2 separate regions of the Homo sapiens genome follow, and region 1 is linked to region 2. Evidence: promoter capture Hi-C in 16 types of primary human blood cells and fetal thymus (Javierre and others, 2016). All regions are on one chromosome and are shown on one strand. The core of a region is centred on a gene start or on the middle of the fragment in contact, and the rest is flanking DNA. Distances in the headings are between cores, read along the strand shown.

Evidence for each region. Contacts are between HindIII fragments. The CHiCAGO score rates a contact against its expected background, and 5 or more counts as called.
Region 1: a fragment that was not itself captured here is called in contact with the fragment with the promoter of WASHC4 in region 2 in 5 of 17 cell types (total CD4 T cells, total B cells, total CD8 T cells and 2 more); the score reaches 8.4 in total CD4 T cells.

What each region holds. Positions count from the first base shown.
Region 1 is chr12:104,081,955-104,088,880 of GRCh38, forward strand. HCFC2 (host cell factor C2) reads left to right here. Exons shown (of 15, transcript NM_013320.3): 6 at 546-652; 7 at 759-947; 8 at 4,893-5,060; 9 at 6,032-6,084. Among named protein-coding and RNA genes, the nearest start is that of HCFC2, 21 kb to the left of the region's middle. The HindIII fragment of the contact is 227 bases long and covers 3,235-3,461 here.
Region 2 is chr12:105,106,326-105,113,679 of GRCh38, forward strand. It overlaps WASHC4 (WASH complex subunit 4), which reads left to right and starts at 1,406. Exons shown (of 33, transcript NM_015275.3): 1 at 1,406-1,536; 2 at 4,800-4,939. The coding sequence starts at 1,476. It overlaps LOC414300 (a long non-coding RNA gene), which reads right to left and starts at 1,317. Exons shown (of 2, transcript NR_121211.1): 1 at 463-1,317. RefSeq lists silencers at 1,215-1,494, 1,705-1,954 and enhancers at 1,515-1,674, 3,513-3,672. The HindIII fragment of the contact is 7,983 bases long and covers 1-7,086 here.

The sequences.
Region 1 (6,926 bases), core at 2,098-4,597, 1.0 Mb before region 2:
TCTGGTTGACATCAGGTCAAATGGGCCCTGATTTCTGCCTAATGAGCCTTTCTCTTCCAGCAGCCATCAGGCTTGTCTTAAGAACTCCTAGGGCCCTAAAGGAACACAGTTTAAAGTTTTTTGTTTAAGTGATATCAATGACCAAAGTTATATGAAATTTAATCCTCTTCGGTTACTATATGCATACAATTTTAAATTTGACTTTGGATGTCATAGATCAATTGAGTGTCTCTCTGACTGAGGTACCCTTAGTATATTATAGGCAATATTGATTTTTAAGTATATTATAGTTGAAATATTCTTCACTTTAAGTAACTTGCCAGAGAGAAATAATTGTGATTCTGTACTGCTTCATAAAATTGTAAACTCTTGAAAAAAGACCACTTTATTCATCTTCTTATTCCCATTACCTTGACAATGGTAAGCGAATGAATAGTTCTGAAGCTCTGAGTCAACTGATAGGAAATTTTTCTATTCTTAGCACTTCAAATCCAAGAAGTAAAATGAAATAAGCTACTTTATGTTTTTGTTTTGTTGTTGCTCAGGATGTACATTTTTGGTGGATGGGTCCCACATAAGGGGGAAAATACTGAGACTTCACCTCATGATTGTGAATGGAGATGTACCAGTTCATTTTCTTACCTAAATCTGGGTGAGTCTTTTAAGAGTTACTCATTGAATTAATCTTTATTAATAAGATAATTTTTGTAATTTTGTTAAGAACAAAAGATTAGTCATGGATATTTCTATCTTTTCAGATACAACAGAGTGGACCACCCTAGTATCAGATTCTCAGGAAGATAAAAAAAATTCAAGACCAAGACCAAGAGCTGGCCACTGTGCTGTTGCAATCGGCACTCGATTGTATTTTTGGAGTGGAAGAGATGGCTACAAAAAAGCACTGAATAGTCAAGTTTGCTGCAAGGATCTTTGGTATCTTGATACTGGTAGGTAAGAATATTTAACAAATAAACTTTTTCCTTTAGGTAAGCACTCAAATGTCTGCCTTTTGAGACTTACTGTAAATGCTACTACCTCTTGTTTCCCATAATTAAGTATGAATGGAAGAAACAATATGTATAGTTATTCTCCACTCCTGAGAAGTATATAATTATCCTCTCCTTGAGTGTAGGCTGGATTTAAAGACTCCTTTGCAAAGAATAAAGTATGGAAAGGGAAAATAGTAGCTTTACAGAAACCTGGCAAGCACGAGAAACCTGGCAAGCATGAGAAACCTGGCAAGCACTACCTTAATCAAGTGATCAAGGTTAATATCACTAGTGATAAGTTAGTATCATTTACTCCCTAATATCATGTGATAAGTGAAAGTACCTCGGTGGTATTCCCAAATCCATAACCTCAGCCTAACTATGAGAAAACATCAACAAGCCCAAACTGAGGGACATTCTAGATCTTCTACAAAGAATATGTGAGCAGTACTATTCAGAAGTTTCAAAGTGAAGGAAAACAAGGGAAGACTAAGAAATAATCAAAAACTGGAGGAGACAAAGGAGACATTACAACTGAATGTGATGTTGTGTTCCGGATTGGATCCTGGAACAAAAAAAGACATTAATTGAAAAACTGGTGAAATCTGAGTTGTCTATAGTTGAGTTAATAGTATTACACCAATAATTTCTTAGTTTTAACAAATGTGGTAATATTAGGGGAAGCTGGAGAAAAGGGAAAGCTGGGGTCAGGGGGTTATGGCAATGCTGTACTATCTTTGCAACTTTTCTGTAAATCTAAAATTATTTTAAAATAAAAGATTTTAAAAAAATATATTAGAGGCTGGGTGCAGTGGCTCACACCTGTAATCCTAGCACTTTGGGAAGCTGAGGCAGGAGGATTGCTTGGGGCCATGAGTTCAAGACAAGCCCAGGCAACATAGTGAGACCCTCATCTCTACCAAACAAAAAATTAGCCAGGCACAGTGGCTCATGCCTATAGTCCCAGCTTCTTGGGAGGCTGAGGCAAGAGGTTCACTTGAGCCCAGGAGTCTGAGTCTACCTACAGTGAGCTCTGATTGCTCCACTGCACTCCAGCCTGGGTATCAGAGCAAGACCCCATCTCGAAAGGGGGAAAATAATTATTAAAGCACCAAAATTTTTAAAAATGTGTACCTCACATCGATTTTGAATAAATACTGATTGACAGCTGCGTAGCAGGAATTGTTCTAAATGCTGAGAATATAGCAGCGAACAAGACTGATAGTGCGCCTGCTCTCACAAAGAACTTACATTCTGAGGGGGTACGACAGCAAGGAGATAATGAGCAATAGTGAAACAGGTTAACAAAATAAGTTCAGTTTCTGTTAATCATATGAATACATGAGATAGTGGTGTTAGGTATTGGGCGTGGGAGTGGTGGCTGCTTCAGGGTGGGTAGTCAAAAAAGGCTTCTGTGATGAGATGACATGGGATGTGATTCGAATGGTGAGAAGGAGCTACCCACATAAAAAGGCCAGAGAAACCACTGCAGGAGGAGGGAACAGCACATACAAGGAGTCTGAGATGGGAATACTTGGTGTGTTTGGCAACAGATTTGAGCTGGGTAAACAAAGAGGAAAGTGTAGGAATGGAGGTTAGAGAGATGACCACAGGATATAGGGCCTTGAATGTGGTGTTAGAATTTCTAAGTTATTTTTAAAGTACAGTGGGAAGTTTTGTGTAAGTTTGAAGGAGAGATGTGACACATTCTGATGTACATTTTGGAATGGTCACTGGCAGTTGTATGGAAAAAATTGTAGGTGCACACTGCAAGACAAGTTAGAAATCTCTTGCAGTAGTCAAAAAAGCGTTTTAGACTATAGTGGTGACAATGGAGGAGGGGAGGACTGGATAAATTCAGGATATATTTTGGAGTTCTTGTTGACAGAACTGGTTGATAATTTGTGTGGCAAGTGAAAGAAAGGGAAGAATGGAGGATGAAGTTTTTAGCTTGAATTTTACTGAGACAGGGAAGATTGAGAGAAAACAGCATTGTGGAGAAAATCAAGAGTTCCATTTAGACCATGCTAAGTTTGAAATAAGATCAAGCAGGCATTTGAATGAATAGATGAATCTAGAGGCCATTAGAGAAATTAGATCTGGAGATGTAATATGTGATGTTATATGAGAAAAACAGATTATAAAACGTATAATGACTCCAGTGTTTTCAAAATTATAAATAGAAAACTTGGAAGGACACACACCAAAGCATTATCTGAGAGCTGAGATTATACATTTTCTTCAAAGCTTTTCTGTCATTACTTGTCTGTATTTTCTACAGTAGCATGTATTGTTTTTGTAATGTAAAAAGAGTTTAATTTTAAAATTAAGATAGTTGAAAAAATAATGAAACAAGAGAGTAAATGCTTTCTGTGGAAGAAGCATATACTAGCAAGCAAGAAAAAAATATAGAAAATTCAACTTACTAGTTTATCTTTGAAATTGGAAATTATTAACTAAAGTCTAAGGATAAGCTTCAGTCTCTGAAATTGGATGAAAAAAATGTGTATGACTGAATTTTTCTCTGTAGGGATTATATCACTTTGCACAGATTCTCTAAGGGATCTGTGACTTAAAAAGATTTTTAAAAATTGGATTTGAATGGCCTGTTTTTCTATAAACCTTTTCATAATGAGCTTTAGATATCAGTATTCTTCTAAAAGTAATCATGGCTATGATCATAAGGGCAAAATATAGATTTTGCTTTTCCTCTTGATAAGTTAGCATCAGTTTTGGTGGAAGAGGGGGCTCATCTTGTTTTTTTTTTTCTTTTTTTCACTTTTAGTTAAACTTTGCATTTGATAGCATGTAAAAGAGTAATAGAATTCCATGAGGCTTTCTATGAAAAATCACGTTCTTTGCTCGCACCTTTCCTCATTTTACTTGCTTTACAAGCATTTATTTGTTCTTAACTCTGTTAAATGATTCTTTACTTCCATATCTCTATATCACATGCATATATTGTTACTTTGATGTATTTTTTTTTTCATTTAGGCAATAATGTGCTCACTTTCTGCTATGGAAGTTAAGGATTTATCTCTTCCTCCCACCATTTTTTTTTTTTTTTTTTTTGAGGCGGAGTCTCACTCTGCCGCCCAGGCTGGAGTGCAGTGTTGCGACCTCGGCTCACTGCAACCTCCACCTCCCAGATTCAAGTGATTCTTCTGCCTTAGCCTTCCGAGTACCTGGAATTACAGGCGCCAGCCACAACGCCTGGCTAATTTTCGTATTTTTAGTAGAGATGGGGTTTCACCATGTTGGCCAGGCTGCCTTGGCCTCCCAAAGTGCAGGGATTACAGGTGTGAACCACCATGCCCAGCTGGTAGTACAAGTCTTGATAAGGGAGTATTAACTTCAGAGAAGTTATGCTTTTGTAAAATATCATGTCCAAGTTATCTTTGCTAACATTAACAGAATTGCTAAAATGTACGCTGTTGGCTGAAAATTGGCTCATAAAATTAAAGAATATTAGAACTTCTAAGAAAGATAAAATAATGTAGCTTTAATACTTGGCTCCCCTTGCCTCTCCCCAGCCTCCCCCCAAAAACCTTCTAGGATTCCCAGCTTCCCCCAGAAAAACTCCTTCTAGGATTAAACACATTTCCAAATCTGAAGACTCATATAGTTTGGTAGTTTCGTACTGGATTGTTTTGTTTATAGATATATTTGTCTAAGAAAATAAATAAATAAATAAATAAATAAATAAATAAATAGAATAAGAACCCCAAACTATTTTTATTTGACCTACTGTAGCTGTGTTTATCTGAGTAAACTTTCCCTGTCTTGGTAAGCAGATGAAATGTTCATTGCTGATGTTTTCAAAGCTCTGGTCCACACAAATTATATCAGCAAACCATTTATACACTGGAAACTTAAATGTATAATATCATGATTGTTCTATAGAGAAACCACCGGCACCATCTCAAGTACAGCTGATCAAAGCCACTACCAACTCCTTTCATGTCAAGTGGGATGAAGTGTCTACAGTTGAGGGCTATCTTTTGCAGTTGAGTACAGACTTGCCATACCAAGCTGCATCATCAGATTCTTCAGCAGCACCAAATATGCAAGGTAACATAATTTTCATGCTTAAAGTATGTGTGCTCACATGCTTTTAAAAATATATACTGGCCGGGCGCGGTGGCTCACGCCTGTAATCCCAGCACTTTGGGAGGCTGAGGCAGGTGGATCACCTGAGGTCAGGAGTTTGAGACCAGCCTGGTCAACATGGTAAAACCCCATCTCTACTAAAAATGCAAAAATTAGCGGGTATGGTGGTGCATACCTGTAATCCCAGCTACTTGGGAGGCTGAAGCAAAAGTATCACTTGAACCCAGGTAGTGGAGGTTGCAGTGAGCTGAGATCATGCCACTGCACTCCAGCCTGGGCAACAAGCAAGACTCTGTCTTAAAAAAAAAAAAAAAAATTCACACACACACGCACACAAGCACACATATACTGCAGTACGTGTGTGTGTGTGTGTGTGTGTGTGTGTGTGTATGTGTGTGTGTATATATATATACATATATATATATATATATGTATATATATATACACACATACACTGCAGAAAAGTCTGTGATTAGGTTTGGTTTAAGAAATTTTATGACATTAGGTCCATGCCTGATAATTCAAATACATTGTATTTCAGTTCTAAAACTTGGATGTCTTACCATTATGATGTAGTAGAACACATAGACACGTAGGATAGATTGTGTTTTCTGCAGTTCATTTTTATGTACTTTCCTAAATTGACATATTAGTTGACTTCAGCAGATGGCTTTAATTTGCTTTCATAAATATCTTAGCTTTTTTCAAAAGTATTTTTAACTAAATAGGCCTTGGAAGTAAAAGCAAACACAAATTTTGCACATTTTTCCAGAGAGGATTTCAGTCAACTTAAGCAAACTATTAAGAAAACATATAACCTTTGGTAAAGATACTACTTTTTAAACTTTAATATGTAACTTTAAAAATATTTAATTATATTTTATTGAAGCTAGTTAAGAGCATATCAGTCTGAACCTTTCTCATTCCTTCAGGAGTCAGGATGGACCCTCACAGACAAGGCAGTAATAACATCGTTCCTAACAGTGTAAGTAAAAAAGTGTATGAAGGTAATTGGATGTTTATGGTTATAGTCTCAATTTTTATTCAGATATTTAGCATACTACTACTCTAGAAGAGGGGTCCTTAATCCTGCCTGCACTTGAGAGTTATCTCTGAGGTAAACAAACAAACAAACACAGATTCCCAAGCTCTTCCTCAAATCTAGTGAAGCAGAATCTTTAGGAAAATGCCCAGGTAGCTCTGTTTTTGAAGAAAGCTTCACAGATCGCTGTGACAGAAGCCTGAATTGAAAACCCAGGCCAAGGGAAGCCTAGCTGCATTACACAGAGCATCAGACTAATTGAATGTAATGTGTACTTATGTGTTTATTATTTTGCCATTTCTAAATGTCACACAAACAAACATCTAAAGATGTACTTTAAAAATATGTATAAAATATTTTCTTTACTGTGTATTTTGTTTACTGAAGAATATCAGTTACTAAATTGAACACTTGTGAGGTTCTTTCTTGTTTATGAAGTGCATCACAGTAGGTCTTGGTAGAGACTAACGAATATGCTTACTAAGATTCATTATTTTTATTTGGTAAACTGCCATCTACCTCAGTAGACTGTTTTCAAGGAAATTGATGTAGGTATTGGCTCATACGTTCTGAGTATGACTGAAGACCAGTAAAGGCATAGGTCCAGAAGTATATCATGTCATACTTATAGTATGTCAGGAAGGGGTTATTACAAGTAAAGCTCATACAGTTTGTAAGTAGCCTGTCATATTAGACATAATATTTCTATTATATATATTCCTATGTTATATGTTGATTATATACTATATATGTGTATGTGTGTGTATCACAAATTTAGATGATAC
Region 2 (7,354 bases), core at 156-2,655:
TAAGTTCAATTTATCACAATGAGCTGCTGGGAGATTAATTACAGTGATTTAATGCAAATGTTAAGAATCCAGGAAAGTCAAACTCATGGTCACACAGAAAGTACAGGAAAAAAGTTTGTCAGCCATTAGACCCTAAGGATGCCTGTTCTTTTCAAGATTTTTTTTTTCTTTCTGAAATGCCCACTAAGTCTGCCATAGGGTCAGAAAGCAATTTTCTTACATGTTTTATAGTTTCTGCATCTAGCCTGGTGCCTGGTACCCAGTGGGCACTCAATAAACATTTAACTCAGGGCAGATCCAATGACCTCAGAAGAATGCTCTTCAATAGACCTTTTGCCTACATTGATTAGTTCTTTTCGGTACTTTTTAAGATTACAAGAGTAAAACCCTAATAAATTCTCATTGTTAAGGATTCAAAACACATAAGTAGACACATCAAAACTTGAAAATCCTGTTACTCACCAACACATGCTTTTCCCCAGGTAACCACCGTCCTCTGATTTGTCTTCCTATGAATTTACATACACGTAGGCACATACGCGTTTGTATAACTTAAAAACATAAATGTAATCACAAATACACATTACTCTGCAACTGTCTTGTGTCGGTTGTTCATGCCATTATAAATATATTTCATCTATTTTAGCAGCTCTTCAGTGATTCGTAGTATGGATGTATTGAGCTTTATGTAATTCACTTGTAATGAACATTTAGATAGTTTCCTATTAAAAACCACGTTGCTATAAATATTCTTGTGCAAATACGTGTATGCATGTAGAATTTTACACCGATCCCGATTCTCCAAAAATCCAAATTGCAGGTGGGATCATTTTAGAATGTACTTCAATAGCGTTCTTCATCCTGCCTCGCGTTTTTAAAAGGACTGAGTGGAGAGCGGGGAAGAGGTCGTAAGATCCCCTGTTAGGGTGTTCATAAAGTAACTTCTCCTCTCGCACAGAACGTCTTGACTAAAAAACAATCCGTACAGAATGTGCGGGAGAGCTGTAGGAACTCCTACGGTGGCGACAGAGAGGGAAACAGGCTTGTTGGAAGAAGCGCCTGGTCAGCGTTATCCTCGAGGATCATGCCTTCCTGTTAATTCCCCACCCCATCAATTCTACCTTTTTAGGTTAGACTGGGGAGTAACTTTCCCAGGTATTAAAAATCGTCTAGAGAGAGCAGGGCGAAATTAGAGTGCCGAAGTGGCTTGAGAAGCACAGTGAATGGTGGCGAAGCCCGAGCCGGGTCGCAAGACGCCCGCTGGCACTGCCGGCGCCATGGCGGCCGCCTTCGGCCACGGCGGAGGACTCGCTTTCCCAGGGGCCCCCGCGGTCGCAGGGGCAACGAGCCCGGCCGGCCCTCGCGAGCGGAGGCGGGGCCGGGGCCGGAAGTCACGTGCTGTGACAGTAGCTGGGGTGAGGCCGTCGTCGCCGCACGGGCTGGTTGGGGCTGTGTCTGTGGGAGGCGCCGGGGTGATGGCGGTGGAGACTCTGTCCCCGGACTGGGAGTTTGACCGCGTTGACGACGGCTCGCAGAGTAAGGGAGCTGCAGGGCGAGGGCTGCGGGTGGACGCTCCTTCGGCCCGCCGCTGTTCTGGGCTGGGCAGCGCTCCTGCGAGAGGGACGGCTGCGCAGCCGTCTGGTGCGGGACACTTCAGAGCCCTTGGGGTGTGCGAGGGACGCGCTCTCCAGCGTTACTTTCGGGGTTGGGGTCCCAGCCACGGCGGGTCAGGCTGCCCGTTCAGGGCTCGGCGTGTGAGGCGGAGACTCTCCTGGGGAGCCTGCGGTGCCCCGCGGGGAGCGGCGTCCCCCTTCAGCTGCCCCGGGGCTTGGGCGGGGCGCGCCCGGGAGGCCCAGCGGCCCCGGGATCCCAGGCTGCTTCTGTCTCTGGCCTCTTGGGGATTTCGCCAGATTCTGAGCGTTCAGCTCTGGAGGACGCTGATGTCTGGGTTCCTGTTTCGGTTTCCTGTTTTTCTTCTTTTCCTCCCAAATCAACTTTTGCAAGTTTGGGTGTCTTTCCCATCGCGTTGCTATAACCGTAGAAGGGAGCGAAAAAAGAACTTTTCACCCTGCGAAAATAAACACGTGAATGTCATTTTATCATTTTCCAGGCCTTTTATTTATGCTAAGTGATATTTTTCAGTGATGTTCTGCAGTTTCCATCGCAGTTATAAAGGCTTCAAAAATTACAGCAAATCTTCAAATTTTGCTTCACAAGATCGAATTGTCTGATTTTAACTTAGAAGTCTATCCCGAAATAAACAAATTGTGTTTCTTTCAGTAAAATATTGAGGCCAAATTAATTGTAGTGAAACTCTACTTGAAATAAATACAAGTTGGCAATCTGCTTCTTATCTTTGGTCATAGTAATCTGTGTAAGTGATCTAAGAGAGATTGGAGCATGCTGTTTGTGATTTTTTTTTTCCCTCATAGTTTTCCCAAAAGGTGGAACGTTGCTTTTAAAAATTCCGGATGAATTTTGCTTGATTTACGAAGAGAGACTAATGCCTACAATGTTAGATGAATTAGGTTTTACAAGTCTCTCAGAGAAGAGTGAGCTACATCCAGGATGGGTTGCAGTTTTTCACAAAACATTCCTGAGGTCAGGAGTTCAAGACCAGCCTGGCTAACATGGTGAAACCCCGTCTCTACTAAAAAATAAATAGCTGGGCTTGGTGGCGAGCGCCTGTAATTCCAGCTACTTGGGAGGCTGAGGCAGGAGAATCGCTTGAACCCGGCAGGCGGAGGTTGCAGTGAGCCGAGATCGCGCCATTGCACTCTAGCCTGGGTGATAATAAGGTATTAGCTCTTATGCAGCATAAAAATTAACCTTGGAGATAATGACAAAATCTTTTAATTTTTTTTTGTGGAGGGGATTCTGTATTGTTATAAAGTGAACTGTACCTTGTCATATATGTTTTATGGACAAAGATGACGAACTGGTATCTTCAAAAAAAATTGGAATAGAGTTATGTTAATTGAGTTTGAAAATGGTTCAGCCTGGAGTAGAATGGTCTGATTCACTCAACAGATATTTTCTACAACCAGTGGCTGTGCTAGATATTAGGGATAAAAAGATAAAACAAGGAGTGCAGTCTGTTGACAAAGATGAGCATGTTAAGTAGGTTTTTGGAATTTTTACTCTTAAAAAATTACCATGTAGTTCTTATCTCAACTTTTGTTATTTTAACTTTCACCAATTTTACAACCGTTTATTGTCAGCAAGGAACTTTTAATGTTATTTTAGGTTTTCTGTTTCCTGTTTGTGAATCCCTGAACATACTAAAGGAGTGATTTATTGGCGTGGTGTTTCTCTAGCATTGTCTTTTTTTTTTTTTTTTTTTTTCGAGACAAGGTCTCACTCTGTCGCCCAGTGCCGTGGCATCGCCACGGCTCACTGCAGCCTCGACCAGCTGAGCTCAGGTGATCTTCCTACCTCAGCCTCCTTAGTAGCTGGCTGATTTTTTCTTTTTAAATTGGGATAGAGACAAGGTTTTGCCATGTTGAACTCCTGGTCTCAAGCGACCCACCGGCCTTGGCCTCCTAAAGTGTTGGGGTGAGCCACCATGCCCGGCCTAGCATTGTCTTTAAGAAGTCATTTGCTGGTCAAATGCAGCTTTGACTGGTCATTTCCTGTGTAGTTGAGAATAAGACAACTATTTGGGGTTCTGAGAATCTGGGCAGTCTTATATGTAAGCTGTAGGGAAGAGAACACCTCCCTGTGCTTGGCGTTCATTAATTTTTGGTCTGTGAATCATATCTAGACTAATTGTTTTCCAAAATTGCCTAGATTAATGCTATAATAAGACAGAAACCTTAATGAACTAAATGGATTCACCGGATTTAAAACTTTATGTGGTTGAAGAATAAAGGAGAGTGGGGGCTAGGTCTTTATACTTTAATACAGCATGAGTCAGAACACACTTTCTCTTACTTGCTTCACATTGCTAATTTGAGGAGAGCAAATTTTTACCTTTTTTAGAAGACAAAGGTTGAATAAAGTTATTCATATCAATAAAAGAAACTGAGTTGGAGTTGAATTTGTTACCTTTGGGAACAAGTAATGAATTTTTATGTGTAACGTGAAATACTTTGACGAATAGGCATATTTTAAAATCCAGCTTATTCCAATGATTCCTTAAAGTTACCTATGAATGTGTTAATTCTGTGAAGAACAGCATAGTATTCTGTAGTCAAGCAGTGTTCTTTGCTGGTTTTTCCAACTTGATTATGACAGTTAAATAATTTAACAAATATCTTGGTTAAATTTTAGACATTATAGAAATAATATGCTCAAGCAGGTATAAAACCTCCATTTAAAAATATTTAGGTGTATTATTAAACATTAGTGTGTATAGAATTAAAAACTACATTTTTAAGTGTTACTTCTGTGACAGACTGTTTTTTTCACCTTCAGATCATGAATATTTGTTTTTGCAAAAGAGTTGTTCATGACTAAAAGATAGAATCAGGACATTGAATTGTTTAAGGCACTTTTCAGATTGGTTCAAAGCCCTCTATTATGGGGGTAGATGGGCTAGTGGCTTTTTCATAATATGTTAGGGTTTTAAGGTAGTAACTTTATATATGGTAACATCTACTGCTTTTAAAATTATTTCGTGTATAGAGAAGATTGAAAGCTGAATTGTTGTTTAACTTTGGAACTTTATTTTCAGGAAGTCCAGACATTCCAGAGTAATAATTAACAGTGCTTTGCGTGACTTTTGAGGTTATTTGAAGTAAATGTCCTGCAATTCATTACTTGCACTTATCACATACTGTTTTAAAATTTAAACTTAGAAATTCATGCCGAAGTCCAACTTAAGAATTATGGGAAATTTCTTGAGGAGTATACCTCTCAACTGAGAAGAATTGAGGACGCTCTGGATGACTCAATTGGAGATGTTTGGGATTTCAATCTTGATCCTATAGCATTAAAGGTTTGATTTGATTTTTTAAAAATATATGTATATATTTTCTGGACATACTATATCCTGAAAACATAATTTTTTAAAATGGAAAAAGTATTTTTATTTGAAATCTAAGAACAAAATGAAAGTTGGAGAAAATTGTTAATTTCCTTTTCTCTAAGCCATGCAGATGTTTTTTAAATGTGTGTGTTTTCTGTTTAAGAATGACAAACACACAGCCTTTAGTGTCAAAGAATGACACAAACTCCAAGTCTTTGAGCTTGCCTTTGATTTTCATTATTAAGAAAATGAGGGCTGGATAGAATATTCAGGCTTTGTTTTTTCTTGATTGAGACTATTTTACATAGAGTGAAATGCAGATACTCTTAATTTTGCCAAACACTTGTAACTCATATCCCAATTAAGATAGAGAATATTTTCACCATTTCTGAAAAGTTCTCTCATGCTATATAGATGTTAATGTGTGAGTAATTTTTTAATGTATAAAATACATTACTCTTTCCATTTTGAAATATTTCTTTTATCTTTAAAATTAGTTTGTTACCACTTGAAAAATAATTTACATTTTATTGAGCACTTGTGTATTACACACTGTCCTAAGTCACACACTGACTTGTTTTTATAACAGCTTTCTTGAGATATAATTCATATATCATACAATTCACTCATTTAAATTGTATAATTCAGTTGTTTTTAGCATATTCACTGAGTTGTACAACCATCACAACAGTCAATGTTAGAACGTTCTCAGCCCCCAAAAAAGAAACCATGTACCGTGTGATAATCAACCCCCAGTTCATGCCATGGCATACCTGCCCTAGGCAACCACCAGTCAATCTACTTTTTATCTCTATGTGTTTGTCTCCTCTGTACACTTCATATAAATGAAATCATACGATATGTGCTCCTTTGTTGCTGGCTTCTTTAACTTATGTTTTCAAGGCTCATCTATGTTGTCACATGTTTTTAGTACTTTCTTTTTTTGCTGTTGCTGAATAATATTCCATTGTAAGGAATGGATAACCACATTTTATTTATCCATTCATCAGTTGATAGACATTGGATTTTTCTACTATTTGGCTGCTATGAGCATTTGGGCACATGATTTTGTGTAGACATATATAAGTATATTGTATATAAAATGTGTGTACATTGTGTGTATATTTTATACATATGTATATATGGGAGTGGAAATCCTGGGTTATGTGGTAACTATGTTTAACTTTTTGAGGAACTGCCAGAATGTTTTCCAATATGGCTATACCATTTTACATTACTACCAGCACTGCATGAGGGTTCCAGTTTCTCTACATCCTTGCCAGCCTTTATTGTCTTGATTATATTCTTCCTAGTGAATGTGAAAGCTCATTGTGGCTTTGATTTGCATTTCTGATGGCTAATAATGTTGAGCATCTTTTCATGTGCTTATGGCCATGTGTCTGTTTTCTTTGGAGAAATGTCTGTTCACATCCTTTGCCCATTTTTAAATTGGGTTATCTTTTTAGTATTGCATTATAGGACAAGTATTGACTTTTAATTCCCACCACAATCCTATAAAGTAGATACAATGTCATCTCCATTTGTAAATGAGAAAACTAAGGCATAGAAAAGTTAAGTAACTTAGTCAAGTAAGTGACACATTTAGTTAAATAATGAATATCAGGCAGCTTGACTCCAGAGCCTGTGCCCTTATCCAATACCCTGAACTGCCTCACAAATACTTTATATATTTGTAAACTGAAATTACTTTCCTTTGACTTCTTTTCTTGCAGGCTGGATAGACTTAGTCTTACTTTAAAAATCATCCCCCCCCAAATTTGTAATTGTCTCTTTTTGTTCCTCAACACTTCTGTGAGAATCATTGTATGTAAGTTATAGGAACTCTACTAGGAAACTGTCATTCTCAACCTGTACTATCTCTGAGGGTAATAAGTTTCATATATCTGTCACTTGGCATTAAGTAATACATGTTGATTTTTTAAACAGATGCTGTTGGGCTTTCTCGCCATTAAGTAATACTTGTTGATTTTTTTAAGACTTGCTGTTGGGCTTTAAGGGCCTCTTCTAGATAGGATTATAAAATCTGTTTTTTTTCTCAACTCTCAGATTTTATAAAAGGGTGAAATCATCTCTTAGTTTTTATCTTCCCCTACAGAAGCTTTCTAATCTTTACAATCTTATTATATGACAGACTCCATCTCCGCAGTTGCTCTCTTCGGAACCTCTGTTTAAGTTCTATTATTGGGCAGTTATTTTATTGTTTTTACTATACAAGGTTCTTAGTATTTTGGGAAAAACCACAAACTCAGATAAAACCTCTGTAAACAAAAATTACAACCTAATGAGAAAGGGTATATAATAACTTACTTGCATAAATAGTTAGTTAGTATGTAACCAGAAGGGAGATCTGAGATTTCACTTGAT